Linked DNA regions of Homo sapiens: region 2 is linked to region 1. Evidence: promoter capture Hi-C in 16 types of primary human blood cells and fetal thymus (Javierre and others, 2016). All regions are on one chromosome and are shown on one strand. The core of a region is centred on a gene start or on the middle of the fragment in contact, and the rest is flanking DNA. Distances in the headings are between cores, read along the strand shown.

Region 1 (6,307 bases), core at 963-3,462:
GCATGATTGGCAACTGGAGGGAGAACCTACAAGGTATCTGGTTAGGGAGGAAGGAGGTCCTTTGATATCTGGGAAGGGGATATCTAGGGCTCTTGGGTGTTTTTCAGGAGATGGTGACCGGTAACTGTAAATGCCTGTGGAGAGGCCACTTCTTAAGAGTTGAAGACCACCAGGGTCTCCACATTAAAGGGCCTGGCCATGGGAAGAACAGTGATAGGCCCAAATTTCCAGACTGATAAAGAGTAGTGGAGGTGGGAGGCTACTAAAGACCCAGGAACTTCATGTGGAATTTCAGCTTTGCTTCATTCCAGTTTCATTTATTTAGTGGATATTTATCCTTCCTGGACTAGGCTTTGGGATTACAACCCAGAACTAACAAGCAAGAACTTTTCCCTCTCCAAAATTTTGGTCTGAAGGGAAAGAAACATTGACTAATGAGTTTTAAGAGTGACAAATATTACCACAAGGAAGTACAAGGTTGGGAACTGTAGGAACATGTAACAAAGATTATTTATCCAATCAATGGAAATGAGAAAGCCTCCTCGAAGTTAATCCCATTTTTGAAGAATAAATAGATATTGGACTGGTGTTCTGGGTTGGTAGCCACTTGTATAAAGACCCCAAGATGTTGGAAGAACTCAAAGCTGACAAGTATTGCTAGAATTTAGAAAGTTATGAGCCAGAGATCTCTAAGGGCAATAGGAATCCATTAAAAGTTTTAACACTGGTGTGGTGTTAATCAGATTGGCATTAAAACACACACACATGCCGGGCACAGTGGCTCACGCCTGTAATCCCAACACTTTGGGAGGCCAAGGCAGGCGGACCTCTTGAGCTCAGAAGTTCAAGACCAGCCTGGAAAACATAGTGAGACCCCATGTCTACAAATACAAAAAAATTGGTCTGGCACAGTGGCACACACCTGTAGTCCCAGGACTTGGGAGTCTGAGGAGAAAGGATCACTTGAGCCTGGGAGGTTGAGGCTGCAGTGAGCCAAGATCGCGCCAGTGCACTCCAGTCTGGGTGACAGAGTGAGACCGTGTCTCATTAAAAAAAAAAAAAACACACACACACATACACACTGTCTCTGTTATGTGCAGAATGATTAGAGGAAGAGAAAATGAGGAGCTAAGTTTCCTCGCCACTTACTAACGTTTACGTAGTGCTGTTAGGTATTATTCTAATTGTTATCCCCATTTTACAGATGAAACAGACACAGGTTAGCTTGCCTAAGGTCGCACAGATAGTAGTTATAGAGGGTCAAAGGCAGGGAGACCACCTGCCGAGTTCCTGCTCTTCACTATTATGCGTCCTGTGTCTGCTACTTCTGCAGTGGCCCTGGTGAGAGACAATGAGGACTGTGACCAAGAGGGAATGCAAAGAGGACAGGTGGGAGGGAAATAGGGAAATTTGTGAGGTAGAATGTCAGGACTTCAGGTATTGAATGGATGGTGGGAGAAGGGATTTAGGATGATCCCAGGTTTTTGACTTCACTGTGTGCCTGTTAGTGCTACTTTTCTATTTATTGAGATTGAGATGTCCAAAGGAGCAACAGGCTTTGTCAGATGGGAGATAGGGACAGAAGATGAGTTCTAAAGTAATGACTGCAGTCAAGTGCCCCCCCACATCCTTAAAAGCCACAGGAATCTCTACCCTGCCACTTACAGACTGTCTCAGCTTCAGTCTCTGAACGGAGATAATAATAAAATCCACATCAGCGGATTGTTTTGAGGATTAAACACAAAAAGTTGTAAAGGGCTTTGCATTGAGTCCAACACATAATAATTAATATTCAGTAAATATTAATGTCAGAGTTGTTTTACTAATCTGTCTTCCACTTTCCTTTGATGTGGACTTTGCCTTCTCTCTTAATCTGCACAGGTTGCCTTTTCCTGCCTTTTCTATCAGGTGACACTCCACTTATTCCTCAAGACCCACCTCAAAAATCCCCTCTTTTCTTTCCTAGAAGTAGTTGACCTTCTGCCTACTAGCCATATTATTTTATGCATATTGCTGCTGTCACCCTTAATACGTTATTTATATGCCTTATGCTAGAAAACATTTAAGGCAGTTCACTGTAATGAGAAAATATAAAAATTAAACGGATTAGAAAACAAGACAAAAAGAACATTGAGATTAGGAAAAATAAAGGGAAGTCAGAAGTGGGGTGATCCTCAAAATGCAGGAGGATAAAGTCTAGTACATTAATTAACCAAGCTGTAAGTGACCTGTTTCTCCAGTAGGCCATTCTGAGAGGCAGGACCTCGTCTGCTCTGTGATCTAGTGTTCATGAGAGAAGGCAATCTTAGATGCCCAGGAAAAGCACTTTTTTTTTCTGATTTGAACTAGAGGAAAAGTTTATCATTGAGGTCTTTATAAATGAAAGCCAGTGTCATATCCTTAACCTCTTTTCAGCACTGAAGATCATAGAGCTGTTTTGTAGCACATCCCTTGCTAGGTAAAAGAAGGCTAAATCACAATTTAGAAAGACATTCTAAAGCCAGTAGAGGCTGGGTGTGGTAGCTCACACCTGTAATCAATCTTAGCACTTTGGGATGCTAAGGCAGGAGGATCACGTGAGCCCAGGAGTTTGCGACCATCCTAAGCAACACAGCAAGACATGATCTATACTACAGAATTTTTCAAATTAGCCAGGCGTGTGTGGTGGTGTGCACCTGTAGTCTCAGCTACTCATCTCTACTAAAAATTTTCTTAAATTAGCCAGGTGGAGTGGAACACACCTGTAGGTAGTCCCAGCTACTCAGGAGGCTGAGGCAGGAGGATCACTTGAGCCCAGGAGTTTGAGGTTGCAACGAGCCATGATTGCACCACTGCACTCCAGCCTGTCAACAGTGCTAGACCCTGTCTAAAAATAAATAAATAAAATCAATGGACAATGTGGTTTAGGTGGGTAGTGGGTAGCTCTGCTGATCTGGCTTGATTCAAATCAGGGTTTTTTGATTGAATATCTAGACCATAGAGGAAAGACAAACTACAACTTCTTCAGACAATCCTCTATAAACATGGTTTTTGTCAGCTGAGCTTTTGAAAAAATCAAGCTGAAATGAGTGGTATGTGTGATCCGTCAACAAGTATTTATTGCATACCTTCTAGGCACAATGCGAGGTCCTGGCTACTTTGCAGTGAACTAGACAGAGGAGGGCCCTGGCCCCTGCTTTGGGGAAAGAAGCCATAGTGTGCAATCAAATAAGTAAATAAGATAATTTCTGAAAAGGAATGTAATTAAGTTCTGAGAATGAACTTGATGGAATGAGGACAGAGAGTAATGGGGGAGGGCAGTGATACCTGACAGGTTCAACCACATGAAGAGCCCAGGAAAGTATTCCAGATAGAGACAACAACTAGTGCAAAGGCCCGAGGTGAAAACAAGCTCTGCACCCTTTAGAGGAAATAAGGAAAGCCACTGGGCTGGATCTAGGGACAGGACTGCATCCAGGTGGGCCAAGAGGAGTACGATGCAAAAGGAGGTAAAAGGGAGCTCAGGAGGAGCCTTGCAGGCTTTGGAAAGGAGACTGAATTGTCCTTTGTGGGCATTTAGAAATGATAGGAGGATTGTAAGCAGGAGAGTTAGTGATCCAATTCATCTTTTAGATCATTCTGAGTTGCATAAAAAATGGATTCTAGGAAGGCAAGAATGGAAACAGGGAGTCCAATGCAAAATATTCCAGATGAGAGAAATGTGGGCTTGGATTAGAGCGATGTTAGTGTGGAAGATAGAAGTGGATGCTCTTGATATCTCATTCATCCTCCTGGAAAGCTCTTGGAGGAGTACCAGTACCTGTCCATGGAGCTTACATAAGAGCCAATGTCTTTTACAAATTTGATGTGCCTGTATCACTGTCCCTTCATGTAATCCATTCCTCTGGGTCTGCGTATCCAGTTGGACTGGGAGCTCTTGAAGAAGCAGCCCTTTATTTCCTGCACTCAGTTTGAGGAACTGCCCTGCTTTAGAGTAGCTATAGCTACTAGACTGGATATTTTCACCACTACTGTCATGTTATAAGTGAAAAAGTAGAGGTCTTTGGAAGTTAGTGACTTGCAGTCACACAGGTAGTTTGTGACAAAGCCATTTTCTCTCCTTCCCTTGTTGCCAACTCTAGCAGTCTGGCTAGCTGAAAAACAGTGTGGATGTTGTCACTGTTAATTTAAACTATGTTAACTGTATTTTGTATGTGTTAATTTAAAGGATGCTAAATATTGTTAGTACCCTGATAGAAATCATTTCAGAAGCACTTTTTGCACTACAGAGAACATTAGGTGATATATTGATATGCCAGAGCAACAGATGAGAGATGGAGAAAGGGGTTGGGGTGGAATGTGGCTCTACATTCTATTTAATAAAGCTTGCTGGTTTTGACGGTAGCTTTTTTTTTTAACTTAGAAAAATGTAATGCATGAATATGTACTTGTTGCAATGTGAAATAATGGTTTTTAATATGCCTACGAATAATATGACAGAATAATGGAGCTGCATTATGACTTTCTAATAATGTAATTGTATATATTTTTCTGTGAATGCAGAGGTGAGTAGTAACTCATCTGTGAAAGGAAGATAATAGTACACACTTTGTAGAGTTGTTTCAAGGATGAAACATGATAATATATGTAAAGCACTTTGAAGTTGAGTGACCATTTAATTTATTGTGTAAACCAGGACACTTTTCAGAGTGAAAAGAAACAAATGGGTTGTGTGGTCACCAACTAGGGTGGTATAAATGCTGTGCAAGTGTTTGCTGCTGCTGTTATTCCTATTTCAATTGCTGATCCAATGTTAATTAGACATTTGTGGGCACAGGGTTCTTTTGTTTTTGGGTTTTTTTTTCATTAGTGCCATTGCATTTGCCCACTTTCTTCCATCTTCTGTGGCCCCAACACAGGGATAACTGCTGCAGTTCAACTATGAAATGATGTTTCTTTAGCCAAGATAATTGGTTTTTCAAAGCAAGATGGACATTTCACCTTGACTTTATTAGCACTATACTACTCTAAACATTTAAATAGAGAGAAAAGACAAAGGACCTCAACATGATGTTTTGCATTTATTTTCCTTTTAAAATTTTAAATTTAATTTTGGTGCACGTAATTTACCTTGGCATCAGCAATTTATGTAGACCAGTCAGAAGTATCTTAGGAGAGGTTAATATCTACATGGAGGAATCAAACCATCTTATTGTTCCTTCCACCCACCTTTTATGTGTCTCCTTAATATTGTTGACCTTAAAAATTGTTTTAATGGCTTTGAGCTTTTTGAAAGGAGGGACCAGGTGTTATTTTACCATAAGGAATGTAACACAATGGGCTAATATGTGTGATTCATCTTAATAACATGAGCTGTGGTGGTCTAACGATAAATCTTACAGGAATCTGCATGAACATTTTTTTTACATGGCCTTAGTCTCTCTTCTTGTTCATTTAAAGTAGGTCAAATCAAGCCAGTTTTCTTTGTTGTTGTTAACATATCATAGCTTTATTCAGTAACGGAGTAGAATTTTTAATACAGAGAAAATGAAGTACCTGAGAATGATAAATAAGTTTACCACCCAGTTAACCACTGTTACTACTTCATAAAAAAAGTACTACATGTCAGTAAATTCAAGAAGAAATGCACAATATGAAAAATGAAAACCTTCCCCTCTTTACCTTCCGTAATAATTCCTCTCCCAGAATGATTTTTAATGCCTCTAAAAGGTAAAAGTATCTTCTCTGGAGCCTGACTCCTGAGTTTGAGTTCCATTTCTATTCCTTACTTCCTGTGACATTTAATTTTTGGCAAGATGCTTTTTCATTGGTAAAATAGGGATAAGAATATCTATAATGAGGCCGGGCAAGGTGGCTCACGCCTGTAATCCCAGCACTTGGGGAGGCCGAGGCGGGTAGGTCACGAGGTCAGGCGTTCAAGACCATCCTGGCTAACACGGTGAAACCCCGTCTCTACTAAAAATACAAAAGAATTAGCTGGGCGTGGTAGCGGGCGCCTGTAGTCCCAGCTACTTGGGAGGCTGAGGCAGTAGAGTGGCATGAACCTGGGAGGCGGAGCTTGCAGTGAGCCGAGATAGCGCCACGCACTCCAGCCTGGGCAACAGTGCAAGACTCTGTCTAAAAAAAAAAAAAATCTATAATGCTGTTGTGTAGATTAAGTGTGTTTATATGTGAAAAGCATCTAAAGCAGTCCTTAGCATATTTAAGTGTTACGTATCTGCTGGCTAGTATACCAGTGGGTATATATGCTTGAAAATTTTATACAGTCATTTACACACTGGTCTGTATTCAACTTCTGTGTACCCAT
Region 2 (6,307 bases), core at 2,474-4,973, about 40 Mb after region 1:
ATATTCTGAGCACATGGAGATCCTCACACCTAAAGCTTTTCATTTTCCAGTATTTTCCTAAAAGGACTAAAAAATGCTCCTAAGTAACTTCATTGCTCAAACAAACTGGCCATGAAGAAATCTGGTTCTGGTCTCTTCTTTGCCTCCTGTTATAGTTATCTGACACAATCCTAGAAACAATGAATTTATCATTTGCCTCCCCCAACACTTGGCTAGAAGCACAGGTTAATCCAGAACAGATGTAACATTTAGAATGGTAGATAAGGTAAATTATCTCAAAACAGGGATCGTTTCACAGCCCTTGCTCCCACACCTTTCTGTTTTGGTGTTCCCAGAAGACATATGTGGCTATCCACTAACCAATCCCCAGTTCAATACTCTCCCTTCTCTACCCCATTCTGCCATTCATCTCTAAGCAGCTCTTAAGAAATCCAGACTCACTACTTGTTCTTCTGACTCGCTCTTTATAGGTGTTAAAGATGCTAGAAGAATGCATGCTATACCAGAATAACAGTAAGGCTGAAGCTAATTCCCTCTACACAGAGCTATTGTCAAAATGTGATTCCCAATTTTATATAACCGCCACAACCCTTCTGAAAACTGGCATTTTTTTTTTTTTTTTTTTTTTTTTTTTTGAGACAGAGTCTCACTCTGTCACCCAGGCCGGAGTGCAGTGTCACAATCTCGACTTACAGCAACCTCCACCTCCTGGGTCCAAGCAATTTTCCTGTCTCAGCCTCCTGAATAGCTGGGACTACAGTCACATGCCACCACCCCCAGCCAATTTTTGTATTTTTTTTTTTAGTAGAGATGGGGTTTCACCATGTTGGTCAGACTGGTCTCGAACTCCTGACCTCAGGTGATCCACCCACCTTGGCCTCCCAGTGCTGGGATTACAGGTGTGAGCCACCGCACCGGGCCTATCAATCATTTTTAAACAAAAATCCACAAAGCAAAATGCTGAGGCCAAAACAATCCCAAAAAGACAGACATTGCCGTCTTTAGGCAAGAAAAAAAAAAACAGGCAGAGAAATTTAGAGTCACTTTTAGTCTGTCATGTAGTAGATATCAGATGTGTTTTTAAGCACCAATTATATATATTGAGGCTAAGAAACAAACCCTCTGAGGAGGAAAGCACAACCACAACTCTCAAGGGGTTTGAGTGCAACCCAGAAGGGAAGATAAAACAGGTGCCTACTATGCCAAGAAACACACAATGTTTTTCATCAGACACGATTTTTTTTTTTTTTTTGAGATGGAGTCTCACTCTGTTGTCCAGGCTGGAGTGCAGTGGCACAACCTCAGCTCACTGCAACCTCCGCCTCCCGGGTTCATGCGATTCTCCTCCTTCAGCCTCCTGAATAGCTGGGAATACAGGCGCCCGCCACCACGCCTGGTTAATTTTTGTTTTTGGTTTTTGTTTTTTTTTTAGTAGAGACAGGGTTTCACCATGTTGCCCAGGCTGGTCACGAACTTCCGACCTCAGATGATCCGCCCGCCTCCACCTCCCAAAGTGCTGAGATTACAGGTGTGAGCCACCGTGCCCAGCCCAGACACAAATTTAACATACATAAATTCAACTATATGCACTTGATTTTTAAGACAAAAATATCACTAACGTAGACAATTCCATCCACTGTTTTATTCATGAAGCCTATGCCTGGACTCGATCATGAGGTGAGAGGTGCAAATCTGCTCTTCCCAGTTAAACCCACTGTCCATATGCTCTCTTGCTATGTGCATCTCACCTTAATTAATCCTGCAATTAATATTTTTCCTGCAACATGGTCCCTAACTACAAACCAACCATCTCAAAGTGTGGGCCCTGGACTAGGGGCATCAGTATCACCCAGAATCTGTTAGAAATGCAAATTATCAGGCTCCGCTCCAGATCTACTGGATCAGAAACTTTAATAAGCCCTCTTGGTGATTCTGATGCACATCCAAGTTTGAAGAACACTGCCACAAGCCAACTACTTCATCTGTGCTCCCTGGAAGACAAAGTGACCAAGGTAGTTTTCATCTACCATTTATTCTAAAATCTAAAAACTCCAAAACTACAAACACAAGAAGAAAGATTCCCAACTTCGAGTTTATTTTCATCACCCAGAGAAATTATGTAAAATACATATCCTCAAAACTAGCTGGTGCTTTTTCAGAATACATGTTTCCAAGGCCCTGCCCAGACGAGAACACATCCTCAGGAATGTGCAATTTTAACAAGCTCTCCAAGCAATTATTTGCACATTGAAGTTTCAAAATGGCTACAATCAGTGAATTCAAACACAAATTGGCCCATAGTTTTAAAGATTGATGATTTCATCGATACAACCGCCAGAATATCATTAATACCCTGTGAATCCAAAGAGAAACCAACTTAACCTAGAAACCTAGCCAGTGTCATGTTACTGGATAAAACCATTGTGCTGTCTTTATATAACTTTAGAGATCTTAAGTCCACATTAAAAATTCCAGGTATTAGCACACTGCTACTTTTTCACAGATGTCTCCACTCACAATAGGACACTTTACAAAGACAAATATTCTTAGTCCTCAATGAAATTCCAAAGGAAGATCTCACAGCTATTTGTCTTCTCTAAAATAGTGTCTTAAGTACTAAATTCACATCTAACATCTCAGGAAAATAAAAGATAAGAAAGTGATGTTTTTCCTTGGAAGTAAGACTTTCCTAGGGCCCCCATTTTCAGTCATTTATGTTCACAAGATCTGCTGACTACCTTAGCTAAGAAATAAACTTTTAGAAATTAGAGCTGGCCGGGCACAGTGGCTCACGCCTGTAACCTCAGCACTTTGGGAGGCCGAGGCAGGCGGATCACCTGAGGTCGGGAGTCCAAGACCAGCCTGACCAACATGGAGAAACCCCATCTCTACTAAAAATACAAAATTAGCCAGGTGTGGTGGCGCATGCCTGTAATCCCAGCTCCTCAGGAGGCTGAGACAGGAGAATCACTTGAACCCGGGAGGCGGAGGTTGCGGTGAGCCGAGATGGCACCATTGCACTCCAGCCTGGGCAACAAGAGTGAAAACTCCATCTCAAAAAAAAAAAAAAAAAAAGAAAAAGAAAGAGAAAAGAAAAGAAATTAGAGCTATGCAGATGGCTTAAAAATTGGTTGCAAGCACTGACGGGGCAATGGACTGTATCGTAATTAATTAACCAAAAAACAATTTCCTTTGCAAAAGCTTCAATATCCAACCTAAAAGAAACTACTGGGCTATTATCAATCCAGCGAAGATCCAATTCCTGTCTTAAGAAAACAAGCATCTGTGCCAGGCACCAGAAAATCAAAGAAGACCCATCTAGAAGTAGCTGCATTCTCCTAGCAAGACCTTCAATATTGATTTAGTTGTCTTGGCATCTATTCTTGCTACTAGACACCCATCTATGAACCTGACTGATAGCAACCCAAATGGGTTAAATTTTAATTTCTTAGAAGAAAAGGAGTACATCTAGTAGTTCCTCAACCTAATGAAGAAAGGAAAGTGAAACTACAAGTCACCAAGTACCTACTGGATGTCAGGAATAAAATGACACAATTTCATCCTCACAAGAAGAACTCTGTGAATTAACTTTCATCAAATCATTTTTTAAACAAGGAGCTCAGAGAGGATAAGTCAGCCACTAAGTGGCAGGCCAAAGTTTAAAGTCAAGGTTGTCCAATTCCAGAGTACAAACTTATTTGGTGAGAAGACCTGAGCAAGCAAGTCACTTTCAATCTTTCTAAACCTGAGTGGTCTTCTATAAAATTGGAATATCTGCCACTTATTACAAGACTGAAATGAAATGGCATTCATAAGTGCTTTTTTCATACACTGTTTTTGATGATAAAGTAAGAAGAGTAAAAATCCCCAAACCAGCAAGTCCCAACACCTCCAAGAAACAGGCAGTATGTACCTCTTTGAAACCCTGAGCTAAAATTAGCTGAAGCAGTCTTCTCTATTTTCAGTTGAAAGGGACCCTGGACCTGGGCCAGGTTCCCAGGCTAGGGCTTACCCAGTGGTCAACTTCAGACAAGCCTTAAGTCAATATCCAATTTTGTACTGCTAGGAAGCACTGATATTCCTGCATATATTGGGGTCTTCTTACCCATTTTCTACACTTGTCCATCATCAAAACCCTCACACTTCCTCTGTCCACCATCCTGGAGATTATGTTTGACTTCAAGTCATGACTGTACTTTTCTGCCTTGTGACTTAGAACAAAACATTTTATCACCAAGAAGCTTTAGTTTCCCTCATTTTAAAAGTGTTATAAATAATTTCTACTCCAAGGGTGGTAGAGTAGATCTAACTGAAGCACTAAAATTCCAATTGTGTCCTAGGTGTCAGGGCTCCAGAGAACAGCATGGTCCTTTCCCTAAAATGCCTTATAGGCCAACTGGGGAAACACCTATGTTATTAGGAGCAATGTTTCACACACATGATTGTGACTGCTGAGGATCATACTAAAGAGGGCAGAAATCAATAGGGGCAAACACATCCAAGGTTGCAATATCTAAGTGGGGAATTGAAGACTGTTTAAATCATCAAAAGAGACATTTTTTAAATAGGGTGACACAAAAATAAATGGTGTGTTTTTTGTTGTTTTTTTTTTTCAGACGGAGTTTCGCTCTGTCACCCAGGATGGAGTGCAATGGTGTGATCTCGACTCACTGCCACCTCCGCCTCCTCGGTTCAAGCGATTCTCCTGCCTCAGTCTCCCAAGTAGCTGGGATTACAGGCACCCGCCACCACACCCGGCTAATTTTTGTATTTTTAGTAGAGACAGGGTTTCACATGTTAGCCAGGCTGGTCTCGAACTCCTGACCTCAGGTGATCTGCCCATCTCAGCCTCCCAGATTGCTAGGATTACAGGCATGAGCCACCATGCCCAGCCAAATCGGTCTTATTTTATAAAATAGACATTATTTTTATCTCCATGTAAATTACTGGAGAAGGGAGGTCAAGGTGTAATCTAATGTCTGGAAATAAGCCAGCATGACTAAAGAGAGGACTGATGAAACTGGGAGGCCCTGCAGATGACTATCCTTTTCCACTAGCTATAACCTACATATATCACTGCAAATTGAGTGGGGATCCATACACATGCAGTATCTCCTTCACCCTCAAGAAGACAGGACCACCAAGTTGCGTATAAATCTTCAAATATTATGCAGGCTAAAGTACATTATAGCACAGTAGTTAACAGTTTGTGTTCCCAAGTAAATTTTGTGGATTCAAATTCTGGCTCTACTACTTGCCTGAGTAAGTTATTTAGCTTCAATTTACTTAGCCCCGCATCATTAAGATGGTGGCAACGGCACCTTCCTTCATGGAATTAACATGAGGAACACATGTAAAAGGCCTGGCACAGAGTAAGAAGCTGATGATTATTTTTTTGTCATCATTATACTAGAAGAGTTCCAACAGAATGGTTCAAACCAAAGTAACTAATCCTCCCTACCCATTATTCACCTCATTTTTTAATGTGTGTTAAGGATCCAGTGGTTTCTTTGTAGGTTATTTCCACACTACCTTTTGAATCTCTTAACCCTACTGACCAGTAGAGCAACTTTTCTTCAATTCTTGCTTTTCCTTGCTCCAAGGAAAGATTTCTTTGCTCCACCTCTCCAATTTTTTTCCAAGTCTTTTACTCCACTGTTTTCACTTGTTACTCATGGGGCGAGGAGACATAGAGATGTCACGAAGGACAGTAAGATTACAGGATCACTGGTTGAATGTTTGTCAACTGATAACCAAACTAGAGGGAAGGGTAGAGGTGTGCCACACAGCGCTGAATCTGGCCCCACCTTGGTCAATGTTTACAAAAATTCGAAAGTTAAAAGGCTTTTTTTTTTTTTTGAGATGGGAGTCTCGCTCTTGTCGCCCAGGCTGGAGTGCAGTAGCGCGATGTCGGCTCACTGCAATCTTCACCTCCCAGGTTCAAGCTATTCTGCTGCTCAGCCTCATAAGTAGCTGGGATTACAGGAGCCCACCACCACGCCCGGCTAATTTTTGTCCTTTTAGTAGAGACGGGGTTTCACCATGTTGGCCAGGCTGGTCTCGAACTCCTTACCTCAGGGGATCCGCCCGGCTCAGCCTCCCAAAGTGCTGGGATTACAGGCGTGAGCCACTGTGCCCGGCCAGTTTAAGGCAATTCTTATTAGACCTCCTGCTTACTGATAGATAGCAGAAACTGTAAACATGGTGGGTAACAGCTTGTAACAGCTTTGAACTTAAGGCCAAATGAACGAGAGAAATTTTAAGAATGGTCATTGTAAATTCCTACACTTCAAGTCATGCAATTATC

What was found. The method cuts DNA at HindIII sites, captures the fragments that hold promoters and counts their contacts. A CHiCAGO score of 5 or more calls a contact.
Region 2: a fragment that was not itself captured here is called in contact with the fragment with the promoter of THOC7-AS1 in region 1 in 1 of 17 cell types (non-activated CD4 T cells); the score reaches 8.3 in non-activated CD4 T cells.

Annotation. Positions count from the first base shown.
Region 1 is chr3:63,856,550-63,862,856 of GRCh38, reverse strand. It overlaps THOC7-AS1 (THOC7 antisense RNA 1), which reads right to left and starts at 2,212. Exons shown (of 2, transcript NR_104326.1): 1 at 1,861-2,212; 2 at 1,038-1,358. The region is part of intron 1 of THOC7 (THO complex subunit 7); the gene reads left to right. The HindIII fragment of the contact is 14,056 bases long and covers 1-4,366 here.
Region 2 is chr3:23,947,671-23,953,977 of GRCh38, reverse strand. All of the region lies in intron 1 of NR1D2 (nuclear receptor subfamily 1 group D member 2), which reads right to left. Among named protein-coding and RNA genes, the nearest start is that of NR1D2, 5.5 kb to the right of the region's middle. RefSeq lists a silencer at 4,946-5,240. The HindIII fragment of the contact is 1,040 bases long and covers 3,204-4,243 here.